Regions from separate parts of the Homo sapiens genome. Here all the other regions are linked to region 3. Evidence: promoter capture Hi-C in 16 types of primary human blood cells and fetal thymus (Javierre and others, 2016). All regions are on one chromosome and are shown on one strand. The core of a region is centred on a gene start or on the middle of the fragment in contact, and the rest is flanking DNA. Distances in the headings are between cores, read along the strand shown. Region 1 overlaps PRKCA (protein kinase C alpha). Region 2 overlaps PRKCA (protein kinase C alpha). Region 3 holds the start of APOH (apolipoprotein H). Region 4 overlaps PRKCA (protein kinase C alpha). Region 5 overlaps PRKCA (protein kinase C alpha).

Region 1 (2,700 bases), core at 12-2,511, 360 kb before region 3:
CTGAAAAAGTGTACAGTAACACTGCACATCAACTTTGGGATACCTTGGAAGGAGAAGGATATAAGGGATGATAGTCCCCAAAAAATAACTTAAAATTAGCCCTAAGAAAACATTGTGTTAGAAAGAAATGTTCATAGAACTGTAGGAAAACGGGAAGAGATCAGACCTTAGTGATACCAGGAAACATACTATCACGTTCAACATCCATGGCCCCAGACCTGGATTCTGTTCATATTCTATCCCAGGAGGACAGACATTGTGAGGTTTCTGAGTAGACACTAACCACTGCCTGGACTCACAGAGACCATTCATAATGGCATCGTAGGAGCAACATGGCGGCAATAAAAGTTAAAAATAGGCCCTTCACCACCAACTCTGCCTTTGCTCCACAGCCTCACCTGTGTCTGTGCAGCCATCTAGAGTTCTAATGGCCCTCAGACCCACAACCCCAGTGCAGGTACAGGGTCTTCTTTATGTATCCCGACTGAGTCTGACATGTTATGGATATTCAGCCCATATTAACTGGTGATAGTGGATGATGACCATGAAGAAACTCAAGCTTCACTGGAGTATATACAACTTCAGACAGCAGCAAAACACTGAGCCACCTAGGGAGCAAGCTGTTGAAGGAGCTTAGTAGAAGTTATTTTGAGCTCAAAGCAGTGTTCTGTTACTGAGCATCAATAAAGCACCAGCTTCCCATTAAGGGTCTGACTTCAGGCTGGCTAAGGCATGCATAGCTTTTCTTAAACTAACTCCTAAAGGGACCAATTACTGGTCCAAGGTTGAAAGGATGGAGAAGCTCTTCCTTCTGATAAAAGGAGAGAGGATTTTGCATGCTCTGTGTCTTTTGCAGTGGCCACTGGTAGAACTCTACTCTTATCACATCAGTTGAAGATATTATTAGCAGAAAGTCACGCTAATTCTGCTGATTCCCTGAACACCTGGAATAAGATCTTTCAGTTAATAGTTAATCCTATTTTTTGAGGGCCCACTGTGTACTGAGTCCTGGGCTGAAGGATGTCACAAGTTAGGTAAAGGAAAGAAGGCAGCCACTTTCACAACATTTCTGGGGGTGGGCTTAGGGCTCCTCAGCTGTGATCTCCAGGGGCCACCTCAAAGCCTCATCTCTACTGGTTCAGATCAACAAGGTTATGGTGCCATAGCAATGGCAACCATAGCAACGACAATGACAACCACAGATATAGGTCCCTTTGCCGCACCAGGCACTGCCAAGACTCTTTATATTAACTTATTGAATATGTTAAACCATGGTCAACAACCTGTGTCATCCAGAAAGGTCAACTCCCCATTTATCTGGATTCACCCAACAGATTTGTTAATCCTCAAACATCATCCACCTGAGAGCAAGGCAGTTAATACTGAGGACCCTAAATGACTGCATTCAGACTCAAGGACACATATTGAGTTCCTGCTGTAACTTGTGCACCCTGTCAGCTACTTTCCCATATTCTCCCACATGCTTCTTGTGACCCAGAGGGGTAGACACCGTCACCTTCACTTTACACAAGACAGGAACCAAGGCTGGGAGACATTTAATAATGCCCTCCAGGTTCCAGTCTCAAGAACAGTGAGCTGGATTTCAAACTTAAGCTGCTGGCTCCCTGCTCCGCGGCTCCCCACTCCACATTGCTGGTGCCATGGGGAATGGGGAAGTGCGTCCTTGGGTGGAAACACCTGCCTGGTGGTCAGCTGAGACATCTGTGAGGTCAGCTACAGTGGCTTAAGGAGTGGTCCCAAGTCTTAATCCCCAATACCTGAGAATGTAATCTTATTTGTGCTACAGGAACTAGAAAGAAATTATTTAGGCAGTTAGCGAGGGTAAGAGAGTCCTCAGCAAGGTTTCTGTTTTAACAAAAAGCAGCCCCCAGATCATTTCTTTTCTAGCAGAGCAGCCTGTAAAATCGAGCTGCAGACATAGATAAGCAAGCTGGAAGCTTGCACGGGTGAATGCCGGCAGCTCTGCGGATAGGAAATGGCTACCTGGGGGTCAGGCGTGTTCAACATGGAGGGTCCATCTTCCCTTCTGTCAACCAGGTGTGCAATAAAGAAGCAGGCAACATGGCGCTGGCCAGGTAGAGAACCCACCTGCCTAACAAAAGATTAGGGTGGGGCAGCCATCTTCTTCCTACACTATGTAAATGGCACACCTATCTAACCAATCATTTGGGCCCTATGTAAATCAGACACCGCCTCTCCACGCTCATCTATTAACCACCACCCCCCCCTCCCCATGCATTTCACCATGGAACTGGAAGACTCACTCAGGAGCCCCTCTCTCTCTGAAGGAGAGAGAGAGCTTTCCTCTTTCTCTTGCCTATTAAACTCCTGCTCTTAAACTCACTCCTTGTGTGTCAGTGTCCTTGATTTCCTTGGCATGAGGCAATGAACCTCAGGTATTAACCCAGACGAACAATGCCACTTCATGTAGAAGTAAGGTTTTTGCAGGTGTAATTAAATAAAGACCTCGAGATAAGATCATCCTGGATTTAGGGTAGGCCTCAAGTCCAATGACTGGTGTCCTCAGAAAGACGAAGGGGATTTGACAGAGCCAAAGGGAAGAAGGCCGTGTGAAGACATTGGCAGAGAATGGAGTAATGCAGTCACAGGGTGAGGAACAACAGAAGCCACCAGGAGTGGGAAGAGGCCAGGAAGGATCTTCCCCTGAGACTTTGGAGG
Region 2 (2,700 bases), core at 154-2,653, 420 kb before region 3:
GTTCAAGCGATCCTTCTGCCTCAGCCTCCTGAGTAGCTGGGACTACAAGTGCACACCACCACATCTGGTTATTTTTTCTTTTTGTGTAGACGAGGTCTTGCCCTGTTGCCCAGACTTGTCTCAAACTCCTGGGCTCAAGAGATCCTCCTGCCTCAGCTTCCTGAGTAGCTGGGACTACAGGAATGAGTCACCATGTCCAGCCTACTTCTTACACATATGTACACATACCTACATATGACTCCTTTAGCTGTTTAACTCACATTTTCTTTTCTGCCTGAGCTATTTGGAAAATGGGGGTCATATACAAGCTCTTGGGGACATAGACCACTAGTGGCTCCCAATCCCAGGCAGCCCCTGCCCATCCATGTAAGTGTACAGTTCCCAGAACCTGCCTGTGGCAGTCTGGCCGGCTGTGTCATGGCAAGTCCCATGCAGCCAGTCCCAGGTGGCTCTAAGGAAATGGTCAGTGACTCACCTGTTTAACGGGGGCCAGGGGCCAGGGGCCAGGTGAGTGCTCTTCATGAACCAGGCTTCTGGGCCCAGCCTCAGTGCAGAACCACAAGGAAACACAGCGTTGGGTTGAGGCAGAATAATTGTCTCCTTTGGTCTGCCATCCACAAAAGGAAAGGCGTTGGTGGCCATGGACAGAGGCAGGGGAGGGTCATAGAGTAAGAGGGTGGAGGCAGGGAAGCTTAACTGCTGAGGCGCTCTGATGGCTGCTTCAGCAGGGGCTTCCTTCTAGCCAAGAATGACCTCTACAGAGTACATTTAAATACGATCAACTGAAACAAAGCTTCAGACATAGATATCATTGCCCAAGTTTTTGGGAGTGAAGTTGAAAGAACAGTACAGTGAACACCTATATCACTTTCTAGAGTCACTATTATTCCGCCACAGGTGCTCTTGCCTGCACACACGCTCTCTTCTTGGCCCCAACCCCCGCCTGGTCCTATTTTCAGATTTCTGTCTGTTTTTTTGCTTTTGTTGAACCATTTGGAAGTAGGTTGTAGACATTAGGAAAAAATGACCCCTAAAATATTTCAGCATTCCCCTCCAAAATCACATGACCATTACCACCCAGAAATGTCACACTGGTACAAAAACATTCTCTAAAATACAGTCCAGATTCAACTGTCCCCACTGTCCCCAAAATGTTCTTTACAGCTGTTTTTTTCTTGGATCCAGGATCCAACCAAGTGTTACAGATTGCATTTGGTAATCATGTCTCCTCATTCTCTTTTAATCAAGAATGGTTGGCCAGGCACGGTGGCTCACGCCTGTAATCCCAACACTTTGGGAGGTCAAGGCAGGTGGATCACCTCAAGTCAGGAGTTCGAGATCAGCCTAGCTAACATGGTGGAACCTTGTCTCTACCAAAAAAACAAAAATTAGCCGGGCATGGTGGCACACACCTATAATCCCAACTACTCGAGAGGCTGAGGCAGGAGAATCGCTTGAATCCAGGAGGCGGAGGTTGCAATGAGCCAAGATTGCACCATTGCACTCCAGGCTGGGTGACAGAGTGAGACTGTGTCTCAAAAAAATAAATAAACAAATAAATAAAAAATAAAATAATCAAGGTTAAAACCATTAGGTGGGAGGTTGCTGTTCATCAAGTATGACATCCAGATTCCTTATTAATTACAAACAACAACAACAACAAAAATACCTTTGCAGTTGGAGGGATCTGCTGAGAACGCTGAACCAGGTGGTCAAATGCAGGATCACCAACAGTGGACACTCTGGGTGCCCCTGAGGATAAGCAGCTTCTTGCCAGCACCCTCTCCCTCTCCATCCCAAACCAAAGGAGCAGATACATCTGCTGCATCACCATCTACGTTCCTGATCTGGATCCAAATCCCATAACCAAGATTTATTGAACAGAAATGACTTCCAACTAATGCCTTTTCCTTTAAATAAGGAGCTTGGTGCATCTCCTTGCTGGCAGCCTCCAACAAGTTATTATATTCCACAGCCTGCCTGTCACTGCAAAAGGTACCTGTGCAAAGCTTTTAGGCAAAGGTTGGGCTACCTGCTGCGTCTCCTTACCCAGCAATGATAGAGAAGGTCTCTGCTCACTGTGAATCTCAGGGTGATGTGTAGAGTTCAGGCTAGGAGACTGATGCTCTGTTCTTGTTGAAAACGTAGCTACCTGGAACTTAAAATCTTCCTGTTTTAAAAAGAAATATTTAACTCAGAGCCTGTGCGCATGGCTCCTAAGGATTGTGCAACTGGTAAACTGATGATTGCAGCTCTCATACTTTGAAAATGGAAAGAAACAAACTTCCCTCCAGCTCTCTCCAACTCTCACTTGAACTTCCTGACATCCTGGATGGTGCTGAGCTTCCTGAACACACTCTGCATCTTTGCCTGGAATGCCCTCTTCTTCCTTCCCTGTCCTCCCGGCTCCACTGCACTTCCGATGTGAAGCTGTCACCTGCTGCCTCCCCAGGGCCACTGAGGCTCCCCTTCTCCCAAACTCCCACTGCAGGTACAGCACCCGCCAATTCTTTTTCATGCCTGAATTCTCCCCCAAAGACCACACAGTCTGTGACACGGTCTAGGTCTTAATCATCTTAGCATCCCTGGTGCCAGGAAGAGAGCAGGACACACGCTCAATAATGTATGATCAATGGGTGAAGCAAAAAAAATGAACGATTATCATACAAAGCTGAGGCTCATTTCCTTCATTCTGTAACA
Region 3 (2,700 bases), core at 123-2,622:
ACAAATAGGGAAGGACCACTGTTATTTCACATTAGTGGCAGCACACTCTTCTTATCATGGAACACAATGTTCATTAGGATCGTAATTTAAGAATCATCTGCCTGACAGATGGAGATTTCTCAAGCTGATGTGTCTCAGGGAATTTTAGACCTCTGGATATAAACCAAGATCACCCAAATGAGAGCAAGCGGAGGTTATTTATTCAGAGCTTGCTATAGGAAGGGAGGCAGCCATTAACAGTTGTGTTTGGCAGAGACTCAAAGTCAAAGTCAGACAGAGGAGTGGGAAAGCTTTATAATAGAAAAAAGGAAAGGCTTCAGGTGTGCTCCAACGGATTGTTGGTATGGGGAGGATGGAAGGAAACTAACTAGAAGTGAGGTGTCCATGTGATTGGTTAGAGAAATATGTTTGGATTTCTCTGGTTGGCCTTAAGTTGGGCCAACTGCTATAGAGGTTGTAGGTTTGGCTTTCTAGACCTGTTGCTACAGATGTGTGGGTCAGAGTTCTGTTTTCACATATGGCCTGGCTATTGTCCATTTATATATCCTTTTTTTTTTTTTTAGAGCAAATGATGTAGAAGAGAACTAGGGAATCAAAGACAACCCCCCTTCCGAACCCTCTCAAGCAACAACATCAGCACTGGCCCATTATCTTATCCTACTCAAGTTTTTTTTTCTTCTTCGAGTCCCAAGTTGTTAATTTCAAATCAATTTTCAAATTCCTGAAACAGATCTAGAAACCTGTCTAGACAGATCCAAGACATATTAAGAATGGATGAGGAGGACTTTGTATTGATCTGACGTAAGAGAAGATAGAGAATTCAAGGATAGCTCTAAGGTCCTAACTGGAGCTATAGGAGCTTGCAAGAGAGGATGTTGAGCTCAGTTTGTAGGGAATTAAAGTTGTAAGTGCCTCCTGGAAGACATTCTTTGTAATTATACATCTGAAAACTGGAACATCATTTTAGAGAGGTGGAGACTGAGAACAGAGAGTAGGTGTTTGTCCAAAGTTTATATGCCAAGGCTGTGAGTGAAACAGGAGCTTCGATCTTTTGGTGTTCCATCTACAACATACACAAAACAAAAGATGGAGAATGAGAAGTCCAGGCAACCCCGGAAACAACAAGTTTCTGTCAAAAGCAATAATGAACTGTTTTGTGCCATTAACAAAAACGTTATGAAGACAGAAACCATCTCCCAAAGATTTCATAACAGAGCCACATAAGTGGAAAGTAAATGATTAAAGAATGTGGGTCTCAGAGTTCCATTCAAATCATGATACTTTATCTTCTATTTACAAAGATAAAAGTACACCAGAAAATGGTTAATGTTTAAGCGCTTTCATATTTGGCTCTGTCTTTTTAGCAGACGAAAACCACTTTGGTAGTGCCAGTGTGACTCATCCACAATGATTTCTCCAGTGCTCATCTTGTTCTCGAGTTTTCTCTGCCATGTTGCTATTGCAGGACGGAGTAAGTACTTTTTGCTTTTGAAAAAATAATTAATATATCCAACCCCTTCGTATATGTCAGGGATCAATAATGATAAGTAGGCCGGGCGTGCTTGCTCACATCTGTAATCTCAGCACTTTGGGAGGCCAAGGCAGGTGGATCACCTGAGGTCAGGAGTTCGAGACCAGTCTGGCCAACATGGTGAAACCCCGTCTTTATGAAAAATACAAAAATTAGCTGGGCATCATGGCCGAGGTGGGCGAATCAGTTGAGGTCAGGAATTCGAGCCCAGCCTGGGCAACATAGTGAAACCCTGTCTTTACTAAAAACACAAAAATTAGCCGGGCGTGATGGCAGGCGCCTGTAATCCCAGCCACTCGGGAGGCTGAGGCAGGAGAATTGCTTGAACCTGGGAGGCAGAGGTTGCAGTGAGCCGAGGTCCCCCCATTGCACTCCAGTCTGGGCAACAAGAGCAAAACTCAGTCAACAATAATAATAATAAGAAGAAGAATAATTAAATTCTTTTTTTTTTTTTTTGAGACAGAGTCTCGCTCTGTCGCCAGGCTGAAGTGCAGTGGTGCGATCTCGGCTCACTGCAAGCTCCGCCTCCTGGGTTCACTCCATTCTCCTGCTTCAGCTTCCCGAGTAGCTGGGACCACAGGCGCCCGCCACCACACCCGGCTAATTTTTTGTATTTTTAGTAGAGACGGGGTTTCACCGTGTTAGCCAGGTTGGTCTCTATCTCCTGACCTCGTGATCCACCCGCCTCAGCCTCCCAAAGTGCTGGGATTACAGGTGTGAGCAACTGCGCCCAGCTGATAACTAAATTCTCTTTAGAGTGGATGCTGGAGGGACTGGATTGATACTGATTCTTTAATATTGCCATGTGTAAAGCTCCTCTGTAAGATACGTAGCCAATTTAAGCCTCAGCATACTGACCTGTAAAATGGGGATAATTATAATACCTCCTTCAAATGGTTGTTGAGGGGATTAGATGAGATAGTGTATATGAGGTATTTGGCATGCAACTTGGTATGCTTATAATTGGTAACAGTACACACATTTTTCATTTGTGGGCTTAGCTGAACTTTAAAATGCAAATAGAGATTTGTTAACCATCTGCTTTGTGCCCTCTTTCAGCCTGTCCCAAGCCAGATGATTTACCATTTTCCACAGTGGTCCCGTTAAAAACATTCTATGAGCCAGGAGAAGAGATTACGTATTCCTGCAAGCCGGGCTATGTGTCCCGA
Region 4 (2,702 bases), core at 66-2,565, 400 kb before region 3:
CTCATGAATCATGCTTGTAAGCCAAGCTTGGGTCTAAATGTCACCCACATGCTGACTATATGAGAAACACCCAAAACACTGCTTCAAGGGCAAATCTAGCAACATTACTGCGATCTTAAATTTCTTAAGAAATTTAGGGAAGTAGGAAGCAGTTTTTTTTTTAACCCTATGATATAAAAAAAGACCTATTTAAAATTTTTTTGGTTAACATGAGAGGATTACCAAAACCAAGTCATATGATCAGGGTGGTTGCATGTAACTTGGGGACCACTGTAATTATTACATTGTGTATCATGTACTCAGTAAAGCTGCCATGCCCCTTCTCAGGCGGCTGGGTCTGCCTGGCCCACTCTCCATTTGGGCTTAGGATCGCACTTGGCCTCTGACCATACTGATCTTGTTGGATGTTTCCTTTTCTAAGAAAGAACGAAAGAAATTCCGTTTTTGGTGATGCTCATTAATTTCTGATCTGCAATGTAACACTTCAGTTTATTCTGGTGAATAACACTCATCTATACAGTTGGATGAACCTGTCAAACCAGGTTTTGCTAGTAGGTTTCTTATGAGTCCTTTGCCCAGCTATGCAAGATGCTGTAATCATTCAATGGGAAGCAATAAATTATTTTAAAAATTCTAGATAGATCTGTATCAGCAAGGCAATGGCTAAATAAACTGTAATATATTTATACTATGGAATACTCCATGGCAGTTAAATCAAATGAGCTAGATCTTTCTGTAAAATCATGGACAGATCTCTAAGATATATTGTCTAATGAAAACAGCAAGCCACAACACAAGACATAAAATATAATGACTTTTATGTAAAAAACAGAAACAAGCACTTTGGGAGGATCGTTTGAGCTCAGGAGTTCAAGACTAGCTGGGGCAACATAACGAGACCTCATCTCTACTTAAAAAAAAAAAATTAGCTGGGGGTGGTGGCCTATGCCTTTAGTCCCAGCTACTCAGGAGGCTGAGGTGGGAGGACTGCTTGAGCCCAGGAGGTCAAGTTTGCAGTAAGCCCTGACCATGCCACTGCACTCCAGCCTGGGTAACAGAGCAAGACCCCGTCTCAAAAAACAAAAAACAAACAAACAAAAAACAAAAAGCCCCCTCCTCTGAACAGTAAGACAGTTTTTTTCTAGATTGATAAATAAGTAAATGACTCTGGGAAAGTGTGGGGACAGATTAGGTTCAGACATGAAAGTAAAATGAGACTTTTAACATTATCTGAAAAGATTTAAGTTAAAAAATAAATCCATACATTATCTATGTAACCCAAATTACCACGAAGTCCAGCTGAATACACTGGCTATATTCCGGCTGCTTCATGAGACACCATTGGGGGAAAAGCCTAGCATGCTGGAGGAACTGGGGCGCAACCACCTCATCTCACTACACAGGGGCTTTGTTGGCAGTTTCTCTACCAATCTGCAGAAGAAGGTGTCTATATGAAGGCACTATGAAGATATTTAACACCACAAGCCACCAATACAACTCTTAATGAAAAGCTATTATTAAGACCATCTTCCTATTTCATAATATATCTTATTCATTAACATCTCAAGACATTGTTTTATGTCCAGTTTTTGCTCCATCATCAATCAACTTTAAACAAATTTATTTTTAACTTTTGTGAGTACATAGGTGTATATATTTACGGGGTACATGTCATGTTTTGATACAGGCATGCAATGTGAAATAAGCACATCATGGAGAATGGAGTATCCATCCCCTCAGACATTTATCCATTGAGTTACAATCCAATTATGCTCCTTAAGTTATTTTAAAATGTGTAGTTATTATTGATTATAGTCACCCTGCACAACTTTTAAATTTCAAAAACCTCTGATGGTTTAATATGGAATTCTGATATTAAAAAAAGATAAGCTAGGTGCAGTGGCGCATGCTTGTGGTCCCAGCTATTTGGGAGGCTGAGGCAGGAGGATTGCTTAAGCCCAGGTGTTCGAGGCTGTAATGCGCCATGATCATGCCTGTGAATAGCCACTGCACTTCAGCCTGGGCAACATAGTGAGACCCTGTCTCTAAAGTAACAGTAATAAAAATAAGATGTTTAAAATGTGTAAGTATTCAAATCACAAACCCTAAACATAACTCATTTATAAATAAGGTTATTTCCTAGGTACCTATCAATTTCTTCATTTTGCCTAAAAAAAATTATTTACCGTACACCTACTATGTGCCAGGTGGTGTGCCCACCATGTGAAGACTCCAGGTGAGGCTCAGGTCCTATCTAACTTGGAATGAAGAGACTAGATTATACTGCTAACAAATCACTTCTAACTTTCAGTGGCTTTCCACAACAAAAATTTATCTCACTTTTCACTTAGGGACTTTAGCAGTCACTATCTAGGACATATGCAATCTCACAGCAGAGGAAAAAAAGAAATGGCAGAGTACTCAACGGCTCATATATCTCCTGCTTGGAAATGGTGTCATCATTTCTGTTTGCATGTCACTGGCCAAAGCAAGGCACATGGCCAATCTGGAAGTCAACAGGGCCGGGTGTAATAACCTCCCCAGAAGGGGACAGCAAATATTTTAAATAATAACACAATCTACAATGGCCCTCAGAAAGCTTAGTATCTACTGCCATTTTATATTATTTGGTAAAGAGCCACAGGATGGGTTAGGACTTCAAACTTTGAAAGCTTGTAGGTTTGAGTTCAACTGAAAGTAGT
Region 5 (2,700 bases), core at 109-2,608, 480 kb before region 3:
GGGTTGCCTGATCTTTGCTTGGATATCTATAGGCATAGGGTACTCTGTATTGAGTAGCTGGGATGCCCTGAGAAGTATATGGCATGACTTTAGGAGGTTCCTATCTCCAACTGCCATCTGCAATAGGTCACCTGCTTCTTTCTACAGGGAGACAAAAAACATTTAGCAGAGACACCTTGATACAATTGCTATGTGGCTTCACAGCCTTCCGGCAGCCACTGGGTAGTTATTCTTAGACTCAAATGGACCTAGAAAGAACTCTAAGGCTGTTTCACACTTGGACATGACAAACCATCCCAAATCTTCTCTGGGAAAAAAAAATCAAAGGAAAGGCTGAAGTGACCCAGCCCAGATACGCACAGCACCTCTTGCTCTACACATCTGCAAGAGGTCCCAGGGAATCCTTCCCGGACCACACACCTGGATGCTGGGAAGGGAGATGAGGAAGCAAAACACCTCTGCTCAAGGTGAAAGTGGCAAATGGCAGGAAGCTGCACTAGTGCCAAATGTTAACCACTTCGTTTTCAATTAAGTGCTGAAGACACGACAGCCACCGAGTTCCCTGAATTCCTGAACAAGGACATCTATGGCCCCACTTGGTCGGCCTGATGAACTGGGAAGTGCCACCATCATGTGTACATCATGGCGACAGTCCTAATGGGCAAAGAGGCCTCATCCCTGAAAACAAACTAAAACCAAAATACAACACCATGAGCACCTTGGCCACACGTTCCTGGACCCCATGTAGGGAGCTGTGATTTTGAATTCTCTGAGGCCTCTGTGGTTCTAGCTGCCTATAAAAGCCATGTTACATCAGGCGAGCCATAATCTTTTCAGCAGTGAGGCTTACTCAGCATCTCAAGAGCTGGAGATACTGCTACGTGGACAAAGAACTGACTTGTGGCCTGGGTCAGACTCCCGCTGATCTAGGCTAGCTACTGTTTAGGAGACAGGGTGTAAGCTTCCCTCCACTATGAGGGTCAGGGGTCGTTTCCAGAAAGTGGAGATAAGGTACAAGGTCTCATATCCCTTAGTACTACTCCACAATGTTCCCAAGAGCAAGGTTCTGTCTCTAGCCCCAGGGACAGTGCTTGACACAGAGTAGATGCAGCATCCACCAGTTAGAAATGTCCAGAATTACTGATTTCTGGAACCATAAAATGTATGGGAAAGAAACTGGTCCATCTTCAAGAGCAACCAGATTTGTCACACACGTGAGTTTTACACAACTGCTAGAGGAAGAAAGGGAGGTTCTCGTGGCTCTAAAATGGCCTCTCCCCTGAAGGCCTCCAACCAGCCTCATAAAGATGTTGGCTCAGACACCTTCCTCTGGGCTGTCAAAAAAGTGCAGGTGAAGGGTGGACTCCTCATGGGCCTGATGTTTAGACTTCAAAGTATTCAGAGGAGGGCCTGAGGTTCTTACTCTGGAATCAGGAAGGTGACACATCTTACAGGTGTGTCTGGCAAGTGAGTAGTCTTTAGACTGCATAAGTCAAGGCAATTTTAAGAGGCCAGAGAACCACATAAAGGGACTTGTAGGATTTGAAAAGCCTAGGACTGACGGAAGTGGAGGAGAAGGGAGGGTCTTTCCAAGGAGCACAAGCATGGGCTGAGATGCATTAATGAGCATGGTGGATGAATGGAGAGGAGTCAGAAAAGGGGGTGTCATAGGGAAGGGTGTGTGGGAAGGGACAGGGTATGAGACAGAAGCATCAACTCACACAGGAGGTCTGGGTCCTGCACTAACAAGCTTTGAACACACTCCCTTTTGCTTTTGTTTCCCCATCAACAAACACAATCTTAAACATCTCTCCCAGTTTGAATACCCTATTATTCCATTAACCCAGAGGTCACAAACTTTTTATGTAAAGGACCAGAGGGCATACATTTAGGCTTTGAGGCCCATGCAGTCTCTTTTGCAGGGACTCAACTCTGCCGTGGTAGCAAAGGAACAGCTGTGGACAACACACGAATGAATGAATGTAGTTGTGTTAATAAAAATCTATTTATAGGCACCAGATTTTGGATTTCACCAAATTTTCATGTCTCGCAAATATCCTTCTTTTTTTCAACCACTTAAAAATCCTGAAACCACTCTTTTTTTTTTTTTTGAGACAGAGCCTTACTCTGTCGCCCAGGCTGGAGTGCAGTGGCGTGATCTCGGCTCACTGCAAGCTCCGCCTCCCGGGTTCATGCCATTCTCCTGCCTCAGCCTCCAGCTGGGACTACAGGTGCCTGCCATCATGCCTGGCTAATTTTTTTTTTTTTTGTATTTTTAGTAGAGACGGGGTTTCACCGTGTTAGCCAGGATGGTCTCGATCTCCTGACCTTGCGATCTGCCTGCCTCGGCCTCCCAAAGTGCTGGGATTATAGGCGTGAGCCACCGCACCCAGCCTTGAAACCATTCTTAGCTCATAGACTGTATATACAAAAGCAGGTGGTTGGGTGTGGGTCACAGTTCACTGATCCCTTCGCTATTTAATATGGGTACTGGGGGTGATGAAGTCTATCCTTGCTGTCTTTACGACCACAGGAGACTGAATTTGTTTACTCATCAGTCAACAGGTTTCATCTTCTTGACCAGCATTTCTCAAACTTTAATGGGCTCAGGAATCACCTGGGGACCTTGTTAAAATAATATTCTGACTGGGTCAGAGGCTGGGCTGGGCTCTGAACCTCTGCATTATTAATCAGCTCCCA

What was found. Contacts are between HindIII fragments. The CHiCAGO score rates a contact against its expected background, and 5 or more counts as called.
Region 1: a fragment that was not itself captured here is called in contact with the fragment with the promoter of APOH in region 3 in 3 of 17 cell types (monocytes, activated CD4 T cells and megakaryocytes); the score reaches 6.0 in monocytes.
Region 2: a fragment that was not itself captured here is called in contact with the fragment with the promoter of APOH in region 3 in 1 of 17 cell types (megakaryocytes); the score reaches 5.1 in megakaryocytes.
Region 4: a contact is called between a fragment that was not itself captured here and the fragment with the promoter of APOH in region 3, in 4 of 17 cell types (endothelial precursors, M0 macrophages, activated CD4 T cells and 1 more). The highest score is 7.1, in endothelial precursors.
Region 5: a fragment that was not itself captured here is called in contact with the fragment with the promoter of APOH in region 3 in 4 of 17 cell types (activated CD4 T cells, M1 macrophages, non-activated CD4 T cells and 1 more); the score reaches 7.4 in activated CD4 T cells.

What each region holds. Positions count from the first base shown.
Region 1 is chr17:66,584,616-66,587,315 of GRCh38, reverse strand. All of the region lies in intron 3 of PRKCA (protein kinase C alpha), which reads right to left. Among named protein-coding and RNA genes, the nearest start is that of PRKCA-AS1, 170 kb to the right of the region's middle. The HindIII fragment of the contact is 1,399 bases long and covers 562-1,960 here.
Region 2 is chr17:66,650,814-66,653,513 of GRCh38, reverse strand. The region is part of intron 5 of PRKCA (protein kinase C alpha); the gene reads right to left. Among named protein-coding and RNA genes, the nearest start is that of MIR634, 130 kb to the left of the region's middle. The HindIII fragment of the contact is 1,216 bases long and covers 796-2,011 here.
Region 3 is chr17:66,228,087-66,230,786 of GRCh38, reverse strand. It overlaps APOH (apolipoprotein H), which reads left to right and starts at 1,372. Exons shown (of 8, transcript NM_000042.3): 1 at 1,372-1,471; 2 at 2,591-2,700. The coding sequence starts at 1,408. The HindIII fragment of the contact is 12,618 bases long and covers 293-2,700 here.
Region 4 is chr17:66,630,770-66,633,471 of GRCh38, reverse strand. The region is part of intron 3 of PRKCA (protein kinase C alpha); the gene reads right to left. Among named protein-coding and RNA genes, the nearest start is that of MIR634, 150 kb to the left of the region's middle. The HindIII fragment of the contact is 2,573 bases long and covers 29-2,601 here.
Region 5 is chr17:66,706,049-66,708,748 of GRCh38, reverse strand. The region is part of intron 8 of PRKCA (protein kinase C alpha); the gene reads right to left. Among named protein-coding and RNA genes, the nearest start is that of MIR634, 80 kb to the left of the region's middle. The HindIII fragment of the contact is 789 bases long and covers 964-1,752 here.